4 separate regions of the Homo sapiens genome follow, and regions 1, 2 and 3 are each linked to region 4. Evidence: promoter capture Hi-C in human tissues and cell types (Jung and others, 2019). All regions are on one chromosome and are shown on one strand. Each heading gives the region's core, a stretch centred on a gene start or on the middle of the fragment in contact. The rest is flanking DNA. Distances are from core to core; before and after follow the strand shown.

Region 1 (2,700 bases), core at 198-2,697, 280 kb after region 4:
TCCAATGTGCAGAGACACAGAAGCTTGGGAAAGGGGAGGCCACATGGGAGGCCCCTGCCGTTCCTATCCGGGGAAAGGGTCTGGACAGGCCGCCAGCCACTCAGTCTAGCAGCCCACTCGCTTTCCTCGTTTGTCCAGCAAGCTGCACCAAGTGCCGATGGCAGGCTGGCGCACACAAGCCCAGGGCTTCACATGTGACGAAGACTCAGTGGGCGAGGGTCAGACTCCAGCGGGGGCACCAAGACTCAGGCACCGTGGTGACAGCAGCACCAAGGGACAAGCACAGGAGAAAGACGCCTCCCCTACAAAGCCTGATGAGGGTGGTCAGCAAGTCTACCCTGCATTTCTTTTTCTGTGTGTGTGTGTGCGTGAGACGGAGTTTCACTCTCTCTTCCAGGCTGGAGTGCAGTGGCGTGATCTTGGCTCACTGCAACCTCCACCTGCCTCCCAGACTCAAGCGATTTTCTCGTCTCAGCCTCCCAAGTAGCTGGGACCACAGGTGTGCACCGCCATGTCCGGCGAATTAAAAAGATAGAGCCAGGCGCGGTGGCTCACGCCTGTAACCTCAGCACTTTGGGAGGTCGAGGCGGGTGGATCACCTGAGGTCAGGAGTTCCAGACCAGCCTGGCCAACATGGCGAAATCCCATCTCTACTGAAAATACAAAAATTAGCCGGGCGTGGTGGCACACGCCTGTAGTCCCAGCTACTCGGGAGGCTGAGACAGGAGAATTGCTGGAGCCCAGGAGGCGGGGGTTGCAGTGAGCCGAGATCGCGCCACTGCACTCCAACCTGGGCGACGGAGCGAGACTCCGTCTCAAAAAAGAAAAATAAAATAAAATAAATTTCTGGAGATCAGGGTCTCCCCAGGTTGTCCAGGCTGGTCTCGACCTCCTGGGCTCAAGCAAGCCTCTCGCCTCGGCCTCCCAAACTGCTGGGATTACAGATGTCAGCCGCCGCGCCCGCCCGTCCTGCAGCGAGGTTTGCAGGACATGGGGTGGGCCTGGGGGCAGAGATGGGAATAGGGCGGAGGCCAAGGGCTTTACTGCGGGTGACAAGACGCCTGCGACCCGCCAGGCCACCTAGAATCCCCAGGACACCACTGGTTTGAAGCCCAACTCCGTTCTCTTCCCCAGACTTCAGGGGATAAGGTTCTCCCGAAAGCAGATCACAGAGCGGGGCTGGAGAAGCCGGGCCTGAAGCTGCTCATGGGGCGCTGGCCTCAGGCAGCGCTGCGCCTCCCGCCCCGGCGCGCACCCCAGGGCGGACTCAGCCCCCAGCCCCGGCCCGCGCCCCACGGCGGACTCAGCCCCTAGCCCCGGCCCGCGCCTCACCCCTCGGTGTACTCGGCCTGCAGCAGCCCCAGGTAAGCCTCCCACTTGTTGCCGACGATCTTGCCACAAGTGAAGCAGCGTACAGGGATGATCATGGCGGCGGCGCGTCCCAGACTGCCCGGCCCGGCCCGGCCGCACGCGAAGAACCCCCCCAGGCCCCGCCCCGGGCGCGTCCACTGTTGCGGGAGAATCGGCTCCGCTCGTTCTCCGCTGTTCCGGCCGTCCCTCCACCGGCCCCGCCACCGCTGGCCGCAGTTTCCGCCGCGATAGGGGCTTCCCGTGCGTCCCGGGGCTCCTGGGCCTGTGCGTCCCGGGGCTCCCGGGCCCGCGCGGCCGCGGCAGCAGCAGACCGCACACCCCCGCCCACCGTCTTGGTGCATCCCGGCGCTACGGCGTCTGAGCAGGGCCGTAAAGCTGCGGCGGCGGTTCGCGTTTCTCGTGTCCGCTTGACTGACAGCTGCGCGGCGGGAGCGGGCGGCGCGAGCGGGAGGCGGCGGCGCAGGTACTGCGCCTGGGGGTTGTGGGGGCGTGCGGCCAGGGTCCCGTGGCCGGAGGTGTCCGACCGGGAGCGGCTGGAGCCGGACGCGAGCGGGGCGCGCGAGTTCGAGCCCAGAGCCGACACGCAGCAACAAGTGGGGTCCGGCGCGGGGGCTCGGGGAGAGGGCGGGCGGGGGCCGGGGCGGGTCTTCCTGCCGCCCCTCCTGGCCGCGCCGAGTAGTGGGTTCCTCCGCCTCGGCCTCTGCCCGCGGGGTGTCCGGGGCTCTCGGCGCTGAGTTCGGGGGTCCCATTCTGGACGCGGCCCAGCCCCTAGGGGCGCCGCCCTGGCCTCAGCTGCGCAATTACAGCCCCCGCCGGCAGCTCCCCGCCCCGGGCTCCTGTCCGCGTTCTTTCCGCTCTTTCCCGGGAATGGGGTCGGGGTGCGCCCTCCCGGGTCCCGGCTCTGCTGGCTGCTCGCCGTCCCGAGCTCCCGACGCTCAGACGCGCCTCTGAGCACGGGGAGAGGGGACCCGGGAGGGAGGTCGGGGAGGGAGTCGTGGAAGAGGTGCTTTTTGAGCTGAACCTGGAAGACCCCGGCACAGGGGATCCCTGGGCAGACTCCCGGAGGCTGCACTGGCAGGACCCCCTGAAGGCCTCAGCTCTGGCTTGCCCTGGAGCTCAGGGCCTACGGACGACGAGGGACGAGGAGCCCGTGTCTCTCGGATGGAGTGCGGGGGGGCTGGCACCAGCACCCTTCTTGCTGTGCCCCTGGGGTGGGGGTGAGGAAATGGGGGGTCGGTGTGCAGTGAGAGGCAAAGAAGGCTCCTTGGAGGTGCGAGGTGGGCTGTGGGGGTGGGTGGGCCGCAAAGCGGCACCCATGGGGGGCTCTGG
Region 2 (2,700 bases), core at 176-2,675, 350 kb after region 4:
TCCAGCCTAGGCAACAGGAGCAAAAACTCCCTCTCAAAAACAAAGAAACAAAACAAAAAATAAATGAGCAGGCTATCTGGAATTACTGGTCATTGTTTCTTCTCTTTTACTTTATCTGTATCTTCTGGTCTTCCTGCACTAAACTTTTATTACACTGTTCACTTTCAGGTTCTAGGGGCCACCAACAAAAGTGATTCTACTTTCCGGCCGGGCGCGGTGGCTCACGCCTGTAATCCCAGCACTTTGGGAGGCCGAAGCGGGCAGATCACGAGGTCAGGAGATCGAGACCATCCTGGCTAACACGGTGAAACCCCATCTCTGCTAAAAATACAAAAAATTAGCCAGGCATGGTGGCAGGCGCCTGTAGTCCCAGCTATTCGAGAGGCTGAAGCAGGAGAATGGTGTGAATCCAGGAGGTGGAGTTCGCAGTGAGCCGAGATAGTGCCAGTGCACTCCAGCCTGGGCGACGGTGCGAGACTGTCTTTAAAAAAAAAAAAAAAGTGATTCTACTTTCTATCTTTCACTGGGGTTGGGGGCAGCGGCGGTGGGAGCTGAACCACCACCATAGCCCAGCCAGACTGTTAGTCCTTCATGAAGCTTTGGGACACTGCTGGGAAGAAGCTCTTGGCTAGTTTCACAGCTCTGGCAGCACAGACCCCTCTAGACCAGCTGAGAGGCCCACACAGCCTGGGCAGAGGCAGATACCTGACAGGTGGGGAGCTCAGCCCAACTCACTACCCAGCAGCTGGGCACATGGCCTTCCCCTTGGGTCACAGGCTCCTGAGTATATGGGAGCTCAGGCCCAAGAGGCTCCAGGAACCCCAGCCAGGCAGGTGCACCTGTCAGAAGATGCTGCCAGAGCCAGGCCTACCACAGTGCCTACCCTCCTACCCAAAAGACTCCCTGGCCAGGAACCTGTTTTCACTTCCTCTGAAACCGTCCCCTTGACCTGCTTTCTTCTGCAGAGGCACACGCTGCCCCACTTTGCCCTGTCTCTTCCCTGGGTGAGACTGGTGCTCCTGGTGCAGACTGAGGAGACTGTGGCTACCCCCAGGCAGGGAGTTTGCATGCTTTGGTACCCAATACACCCACAACACACCTGCATAGAAAGAACACGCTCCTGGAGCAAGATCAACCAGTGAAGCTCCCCCACCTAGGAGGCAGGGAGCCACAAGACAGCCTGACCTGCAGGCTTATGGGGAGTTAGGAAGGGAACTCACAGGGCAAGCACAGCAGCACCCAGTACATGGAGCCACAGGCAAAGGCAGTGAGTGCTTGAACAGCCACGGCAGTTCCGAGAGGCTGTGCAGGGGGAATAAGAAGGCCCAGGCACAGATCACCACCCTCTGCCCCGATCAACCTCTCCAGCCCCTCTCCTCAGTGATACATCCCAGAATCAGAACCAAGGGCAGCAGCCTGCTGCCACCTCCCCTTAGCCCCACTATCTTTCTGCTGCAGCTGAGGCTTGGTCTGAGTCAGCAACAGCCCCAGGGAAGGTGGGGAGGGTTCTGGCCATGGCACAGGGAAGACGGCCCAGAATCACTTGCCTGGCCAGGCTGAAACGGTGGCTGCCTCAGCTCCCAGGCACCCAGTCTTTGACCCCAGCCCATTCCATGACCACTGGCTCCTTCTCTGTCTTCTGGGTGGAAATCTGGGTCAGGGAGGAAGGAAAGGAATGAAAAACCAAACGGTGGTTCTCCAGGGGACTGGCCCAGGAGTAACTGGAGGGCACACTCAGGTACCCAGTGACCAACCACTATAGGGCTGGGTCTCTGCCCCTACCTGCCGTCCTGCAGATTTGAAACAGGGCCACTGTCCACCCACCTAGTGGCCCCTCTGCCTATGACCTCCCTGCCCCCCAACCTGTGATTTCACACTTCAGGGAAGGAAGAGGAAAGGGTGGAAGAGGAAGACAGTCCTGCCAGCATGTGTCCAGCAGAGGGGACACTAGGAGAACCTAACTGAACACAAGGCCAGGGTACTGCCTCTGTCCACTCGCGCTTAACTTGCCCGCTCTGTGATGGAGTGCTTGGATACAGGCTGCTCACAAATGCTGGGCTGCTTCTTTGACTTGCCATGGAACTTTCCAGACAACTGCCCCAGGGAGATGGTGTGTGTGATGTGTGAGGGGTGCTCACACTGCAACCAGGCCCTTGTCTGGGCTTTGGTACCTCTCCCGCTCCCCACTGCTCACCGGCCGCTCGGCTCTGAGGCCCGTGAGGACACTCTCCATCATGCTCTTCACATAACACAGACTCCCAGGTTCACACACACTGTGTTCCTGCATCAAACCGTTTCTTCCCCAAATGCCAATGACCTTCCCTTGGGCAGAACGGCCCCGCACACAAAGGGAATGTGTTGTGTTATGAAGAGGCACAGGCCCCGACCCTGGTCACCCAAAGGGGTCCCAGAAACCGCTCTGTAACAAGATAAGGTGGAGCGCTACTGCTCCCACTTTCCTGCGCTCCCAGTCCGTAGGTCCAGGACCTCCTCGGTGGTGTTGATGGAAATGATGGGAGTCACAGCAGGGGCTTTCCAATGCTTTTCATGGAGACCAGCAGTAAGAAATGCACTTTACGTCACAGCCCAGCACACGTGTATGTCATGTGTGCACATGTGTTGTGCATGTGTGTACATGTGTAGAGCGACAGCAGCCAATCAGAGCTAACTCTATTCTGCGATGGACGCACTGACAACTCC
Region 3 (2,754 bases), core at 134-2,633, 280 kb before region 4:
CAATTCAACATGAGATTTGGGTGGGGACACACAGCCAAACTGTTATCAGAAAGAGGTCTTGATCCAGACATCATGGTTCTTGGATCTCATGCAAGAAAGAATTTGAGTCAAATCCATAAAGAGTAAAGTGCCAGGCATGGTCGCTCACACCAGTAATCCCAGCACTTTGGGAGGTCCAAGGCAGGCAGATCACAAGGTCAAGAGTTCAAGGCCAGCCTGACCAACATGGTGAAACCCCGTCTCTACTAAAAATACAAAAATTAGCCAGGCATGGTGGTGCATGCCTGTAATTCCAGCTACTCAGGAGGCTGAGGCAGGAGAATTGCTTGAACCCAGGAGGCGGAGTTTGAAGTGAGCCGAGATCGTGCCACTGCACTCCGCCTGGCGACAGAACGAGACTCCATGAAAAAAAAAAAAAAAAAAAAAAGAGTAAAGTGAGAGCAAGTTTATTGAGAAAGTAAAGGAATAAAAGAATGGCTATTCTATAGGCAGAGCAGCCCCAAAGGCTGCTGGTTGCCCATTTTTATGGTTATTTCTTGATTATATGCTAAACGAGGAGTGGATTATTCATGAGTTTTCCAGGAAAGTGGTGGGCAATTCTCAGAACTGAGGGTTCCTCCCCTTTTAGACCATATAGGGTAACTTCCTGACTTTGCCATGGCATTTATAAACTGTCATCGTGTTGGTGGGAGTGTCTTTTAGTGTGCTAATGTACTGTAACTAGAGTAATGAGCTGTGAGGATGACCAGAGGTCACTCTCATTGCCATCTTGGTTCTGGTGGTTTTGGGCCAGCTTCTTTACACCATTATCAGCAAGGCCTTTATGACCTGTATCTTGTGTCAACCTCCTGTCTCATCCTGTGACTTAGAATGTCTACCCTCCTGGGAATGCAGCCCAGTAGGTCTCAGCCTTATTTTACCCAGCACCTCTCATTTCCACATATTAACCCCCCCGTTCCACACACTCTCACATTTGGTCCCAGGGGTCTCGAACACCCCTGACGTCCAGCCTCTGCCCGCCAGCTGTTCAGGTCGGGTGGGGAGGCTGCAGTGCAGACCCCTGCCCGGCGTCTCCCTGGAGACTGCCTTCCCTCCCATATATGGTGCGTGCTGCTGGCTGTCCCCCCTGTTCCCTCTACCTGGAAGTCTTTCCTCACCCCTGCCTTCAGAGTCTAACCTCTCCCCAGGCCTCAGCTGAAGGCCTGGCTCTGAGCCAGCCACCTCCTTCACACAACCCACCTTGCTCTGAAGCTGCCTGCTCACAGCCATGCCCCGATGCCACACCCAGGGGTTCTTGGGGAACATTAATGGGATAAAGGAGTAAGAAAATCAAAGGTCACCAAACGGAGCCCTTAAAGGGCAATGCTCTGCGTGTGCCACGGTGCCCAACAGCATCTCGTGCCAGCTGAGCTGCGGTGTGTGGACCCGGGGAATGGACCGGGCTGGACAACCTCTAAGACTTGGCTCCAGCTCAGCCTGTGAAGGAATCACCTCTCTGATCCCCACCTCTGCCCCGGAGTGCTAGACCCAGGGAGGAAGAGACCCCATGGACCAGCCAGAGGCCCCCTGCTCCAGGTGAGTGCTGGCCCCAGGGTGGTCACTGGGAACCGGCTGGTCTCAGCCCTCTGGGGCCTCCACCTCACCCGCTGACTTCCTCAGGCTCTCCACCCTTGTCCACATCCTTCCCCCACCCTCACTCCCAGGCTCAGGAGCCAAGCACTGCCTCCCCACAGAGGGCATTTGTGGAGTCTGTTCCCCACCAGGGGCTCAGATTCAGGCCCTGGTGCAAGGCCCCAAGCTGGGCCCCACCAAAGTGTGGCAGGGGTGGGGGCCCAGGAATACAGCCTGGGCCTGGCAGTGTCTGCTGCCAAAGAGGCCAGTTCTGCTCCGGGATCGGGAAGAGAGGGAAAAGAAGGAAAGCGAGGAAAGAGAGCTCAGGGTTCCTTGGAAATACCTCCCTCGGGGCATGTGACCTGTCCTGGGGTGTGGAAGGACAGAAGCAGAAAGGGAGGTGCAGGGGAGGAAGGTGCCCCCCAGAGCTCAGATCAGCGGCGGCCAGTGCCCACTTCACCCTCAGAGGGCGAAGAACACCAAGACGCCCCGACCCGGGTCCGGGGACGGGGGAGGGAAAAGTCTGGGGTCACTCCCCGTTGCCCCCTCCCGCCACCCCATGGATCCAGACGATGCTTGGCCCGGGACTCCCTGAGGCCCTGCCCGCGGTGGGTTCTCCGGCGCCAGAGTCGGGGGCGGGCGGGGGTCACCCGAGGGCCGCTCCCCGATGACCCGCGCCCGCCCGCCTCCAGCACGGGGCCGCGCCTCGCGGTGGCCCGCGAGCTGCTCCTGGCTGCGCTGGAGGAACTGAGCCAAGAGCAGCTGAAGCGCTTCCGCCACAAGCTGCGCGACGTGGGCCCGGACGGACGCAGCATCCCGTGGGGGCGGCTGGAGCGCGCGGACGCCGTGGACCTCGCGGAGCAGCTGGCCCAGTTCTACGGCCCGGAGCCTGCCCTGGAGGTGGCCCGCAAGACCCTCAAGAGGGCGGACGCGCGCGACGTGGCGGCGCAGCTCCAGGAGCGGCGGCTGCAGCGTGAGTTCTGCGCGGGAGGTCCCTCCTGTCTGGGCAGAGGCTGGGCTGCCCTCCTTCCCGCTTCCCGGAGAAGCCCCGGCGCGGTCCCCGGCCCCCGCGCGTTTTATCCACAAATTCGCGGGCCCCAGGGGTAGGACCCTGCGTGCTCCTCAGGGTGACTCGGACCCCCG
Region 4 (2,726 bases), core at 227-2,726:
CCAGCCTGGAGGAGGTGTGAGAGGCTGAGCCACTGCTCAGCTTAGCGGGGGGACCACTTAGTGACCAACACCCTGAGGGAGGCCCCAGCATCCCCTACCTAGCCTGGCAGCAGCAGCGGGATAAATAGGGGGGCACTGCTGCCTGTGAGCCAGCCCAGCATAGCCATGGGTGTGTGGGGGAAGCAGACAGGTAACAGTGACAAGCTGGGGACTGTGCTGAACGCTAACTGGCAATAGTACACTCCTGCCCACAGCCTGTTTTTAAATTAATAATTAATTCTTTAGAGACAGGGTCTTGCTCCGCTGTCCAGGCTGGAATGCTTCGGTGTGATGACAGCGCACGTTAACCTCGAATTCCTGGGCTCAGGTGATCCTCCCACTTCCGCCTCCTGACTTGCTGAAACTACAGGCACCCGCCTCCACCGCCAGGCCCAGCCCACAGCTCCTTTGACCTCAGTGACAGGCACTCACCTACCTGACCCCCAAACTGAAGCCTCACTTTTCCCAGCCGTGTCCACACCCTCTGGGCTACCCCATTACCATGACAAGTATTCCCTCTGCTCCAGGAGAAAAGCCAGGTCCCAGACCTGACCCATTAAAACCCAATCATTCCAGCTTTCACCCTTCATCTCTGCAACTTTCGGCTATGTAAGGGCTCCCTGGGGGAGCACAGGAGACAGGCGGGCAGGAGGCCCACGCCCACAACTCTTTCTGAGCTGGGCAGAACAATCAATGGCCCACACAGCTGACCGCGAGGCTGCGGGGCCCTGGGCGGGACAGTAGGGTAGGGGGTGAAGGAGCGGCTTCCAGCCAGCTTCACTGTGTGCATGGCCTGGCACTGGGTCCAAAAGGGGCAGGAAGGTGTCGGAGAAGAGCCTCAGCTAGAGTCCGGGCCTTCTGAGCGGGCACCTCCCGCACCAGGACTCTGCGCCCGCCAGCTCCGCAGGGCTCCACCTCCCTCGCCGGGACTGGTGACCCTGCGACCCCGCGACCCCTGCGCGTCCAGACTACTGCAGCTGCGGTAGGCCCCAAAGGCTGGCCCGGGAAGCGAGGGGAGGGGCTGGCCCCGCTGCCCCTGGACGCAGGCGGGGGTTGCGGGATCTCAAGCCAGAGACCCTTCCTGGGCGGGAACCCGCCACACTAGAAGGCTGCTGAGGAAGTCGGCCCAGGAGCGGGGCCAGACACCTACCCCGACGCCTGCCCGCGGGCCGCAGCCACCGCATTTCCGCGTTTTTCGCGGTAGGCGGGAGGTGGGGGCGGGGACTGCGGCTCGGCGCCCCCCTCCGACCCGCCCACACCTGTAGTCTCGGGGGGGGCGGGGCGCGGCGACGAGCCAATGGGTCGGGGAGGGGCGTGACAGAGGCAGCCAATGGGCGCGGGGAGGGGGCGGAACGCCCGCGCTGAGCAGCCAATAGGGGTGCTAGGGGCGGGGCGTGCGGACCGCGGGCCAATGGGGGCGCGGGGCCCGGGTGCGCCGCGGCGCTGGGGGCGGCAGGTTGCGGCGGCGCCGGAGCGGGTCTCCAGGCTGGCGAGCGCCCAGGTGAGCCGCGCCGGGTCCCCGGTACTTGGGAGCGCGGGGCGCGCCTCGAGCCGGCCGGACGCCGACTCCAACTGGGGAGAGTTTTCCGCGATGCCCGGACGGAGAGCGGGGGCGGCGCCGCACCTGCGCCCGCCCTGCGGAACGGGGACGCCCTGGCTCCCGCCAGGCTGGGGTCGCGGCGCGGGCTTCGGTGCCCGCGGCGGGGACCGGGACTTTCGGGGCGAGCGCAGCGATTAGGCGGCAGCGGCGGGGCTCCCCGGGCTGGCGGGGGCTGCTCAGACCCGGAGTCTGCTCCATCTGCAGGGTCGAGGTCTGGGTTGCGACCCCGAGCGCCTCTGCGGCCTGAGCAGGTCGGGGTGGGGCGTTCCCATGCCGGCGGCCGCGGGGCCTGGCGTGCGGGCGCCTCCGCGCCGCCCGGGGAGGGGGCAGTGTCCTCCGAGCCAGGTGAGGCGAGTAGGAAATGCTGGATCTGGTTAATGATTCGCCTTGTTCCGGGAGTGCGAGCGTGGCAAGAGGAAGCTGGTGAAGTGGGGGAGGATGCGTGCTCCGGAGGGCCGCCACCCCAGGAATGTGTGGCTGGCGGGTGGGGCTGGCACAGGAGGGTGGGGCCCGTGCGGAGGGGCGGCAGCCCAGCCGTTTCTAGGGCAGGCCAAGAGGATGAGGAGAGGAGGACCAGCCTGCGATAGGAGTAGGCAGGTCCTGACCCGGTGCCTGCGCCCTCCCCACAGGACAGGCATGTTGTTGGGACTGGCGGCCATGGAGCTGAAGGTGTGGGTGGATGGCATCCAGCGTGTGGTCTGTGGGGTCTCAGAGCAGACCACCTGCCAGGAAGTGGTCATCGCACTAGCCCAAGCAATAGGTGAGTCCTCTCGGGGTCAGGCAGGCCGGGCAGGTAGAGCTGAAGTGGGACCTGGTGGTCCAGCTCCATGGTCTCCCCCAAGGAGAGTGGGGCTGGTTGCTGATCCTTTTTGTTCTTCCCAACTCTTCAAGCCAGGTGGACAGAGAGTCGGGGGGACATAGGCTGACCTTCTCCTCTTCTTCCCAGGCCAGACTGGCCGCTTTGTGCTTGTGCAGCGGCTTCGGGAGAAGGAGCGGCAGTTGCTGCCACAAGAGTGTCCAGTGGGCGCCCAGGCCACCTGCGGACAGTTTGCCAGCGATGTCCAGTTTGTCCTGAGGCGCACAGGGC

The links. The method cuts DNA at HindIII sites, captures the fragments that hold promoters and counts their contacts. A contact is called where the count stands out against the background at its distance.
Region 1: the fragment with the promoter of POLR2L here is called in contact with the fragment with the promoter of RASSF7 in region 4 in 2 of the 25 tissues and cell types used here (psoas muscle and stomach).
Region 2: a fragment that was not itself captured here is called in contact with the fragment with the promoter of RASSF7 in region 4 in 1 of the 25 tissues and cell types used here (dorsolateral prefrontal cortex).
Region 3: the fragment with the promoter of NLRP6 here is called in contact with the fragment with the promoter of RASSF7 in region 4 in 1 of the 25 tissues and cell types used here (lymphoblastoid cells).

What each region holds. Positions count from the first base shown.
Region 1 is chr11:841,082-843,781 of GRCh38, forward strand. It overlaps POLR2L (RNA polymerase II, I and III subunit L), which reads right to left and starts at 1,448. Exons shown (of 2, transcript NM_021128.5): 1 at 1,333-1,448. The coding sequence starts at 1,427. TSPAN4 (tetraspanin 4) reads left to right here and starts at 1,771. Exons shown (of 9, transcript NM_003271.5): 1 at 1,771-1,834. RefSeq lists enhancers at 1-451, 452-1,197, 1,198-1,941 and silencers at 1,210-1,839, 1,950-2,039, 2,060-2,289, 2,275-2,443. The HindIII fragment of the contact is 28,886 bases long and covers 1-2,700 here.
Region 2 is chr11:906,995-909,694 of GRCh38, forward strand. All of the region lies in intron 1 of CHID1 (chitinase domain containing 1), which reads right to left. Among named protein-coding and RNA genes, the nearest start is that of CHID1, 2.5 kb to the right of the region's middle. The HindIII fragment of the contact is 5,018 bases long and covers 1-2,700 here.
Region 3 is chr11:277,024-279,777 of GRCh38, forward strand. It overlaps NLRP6 (NLR family pyrin domain containing 6), which reads left to right and starts at 1,384. Exons shown (of 8, transcript NM_001276700.2): 1 at 1,384-1,575; 2 at 2,304-2,584. The coding sequence starts at 1,547. RefSeq lists an enhancer at 2,684-2,754. The HindIII fragment of the contact is 18,362 bases long and covers 1-2,754 here.
Region 4 is chr11:559,494-562,219 of GRCh38, forward strand. It overlaps RASSF7 (Ras association domain family member 7), which reads left to right and starts at 1,477. Exons shown (of 6, transcript NM_003475.4): 1 at 1,477-1,984; 2 at 2,269-2,399; 3 at 2,586-2,726. The coding sequence starts at 2,276. It overlaps LMNTD2 (lamin tail domain containing 2), which reads right to left and starts at 1,245. Exons shown (of 14, transcript NM_173573.3): 1 at 1,190-1,245. The coding sequence starts at 1,223. LMNTD2-AS1 (LMNTD2 antisense RNA 1) reads left to right here. Exons shown (of 2, transcript NR_147607.1): 2 at 286-613. RefSeq lists an enhancer at 2,280-2,726. The HindIII fragment of the contact is 35,948 bases long and covers 1-2,726 here.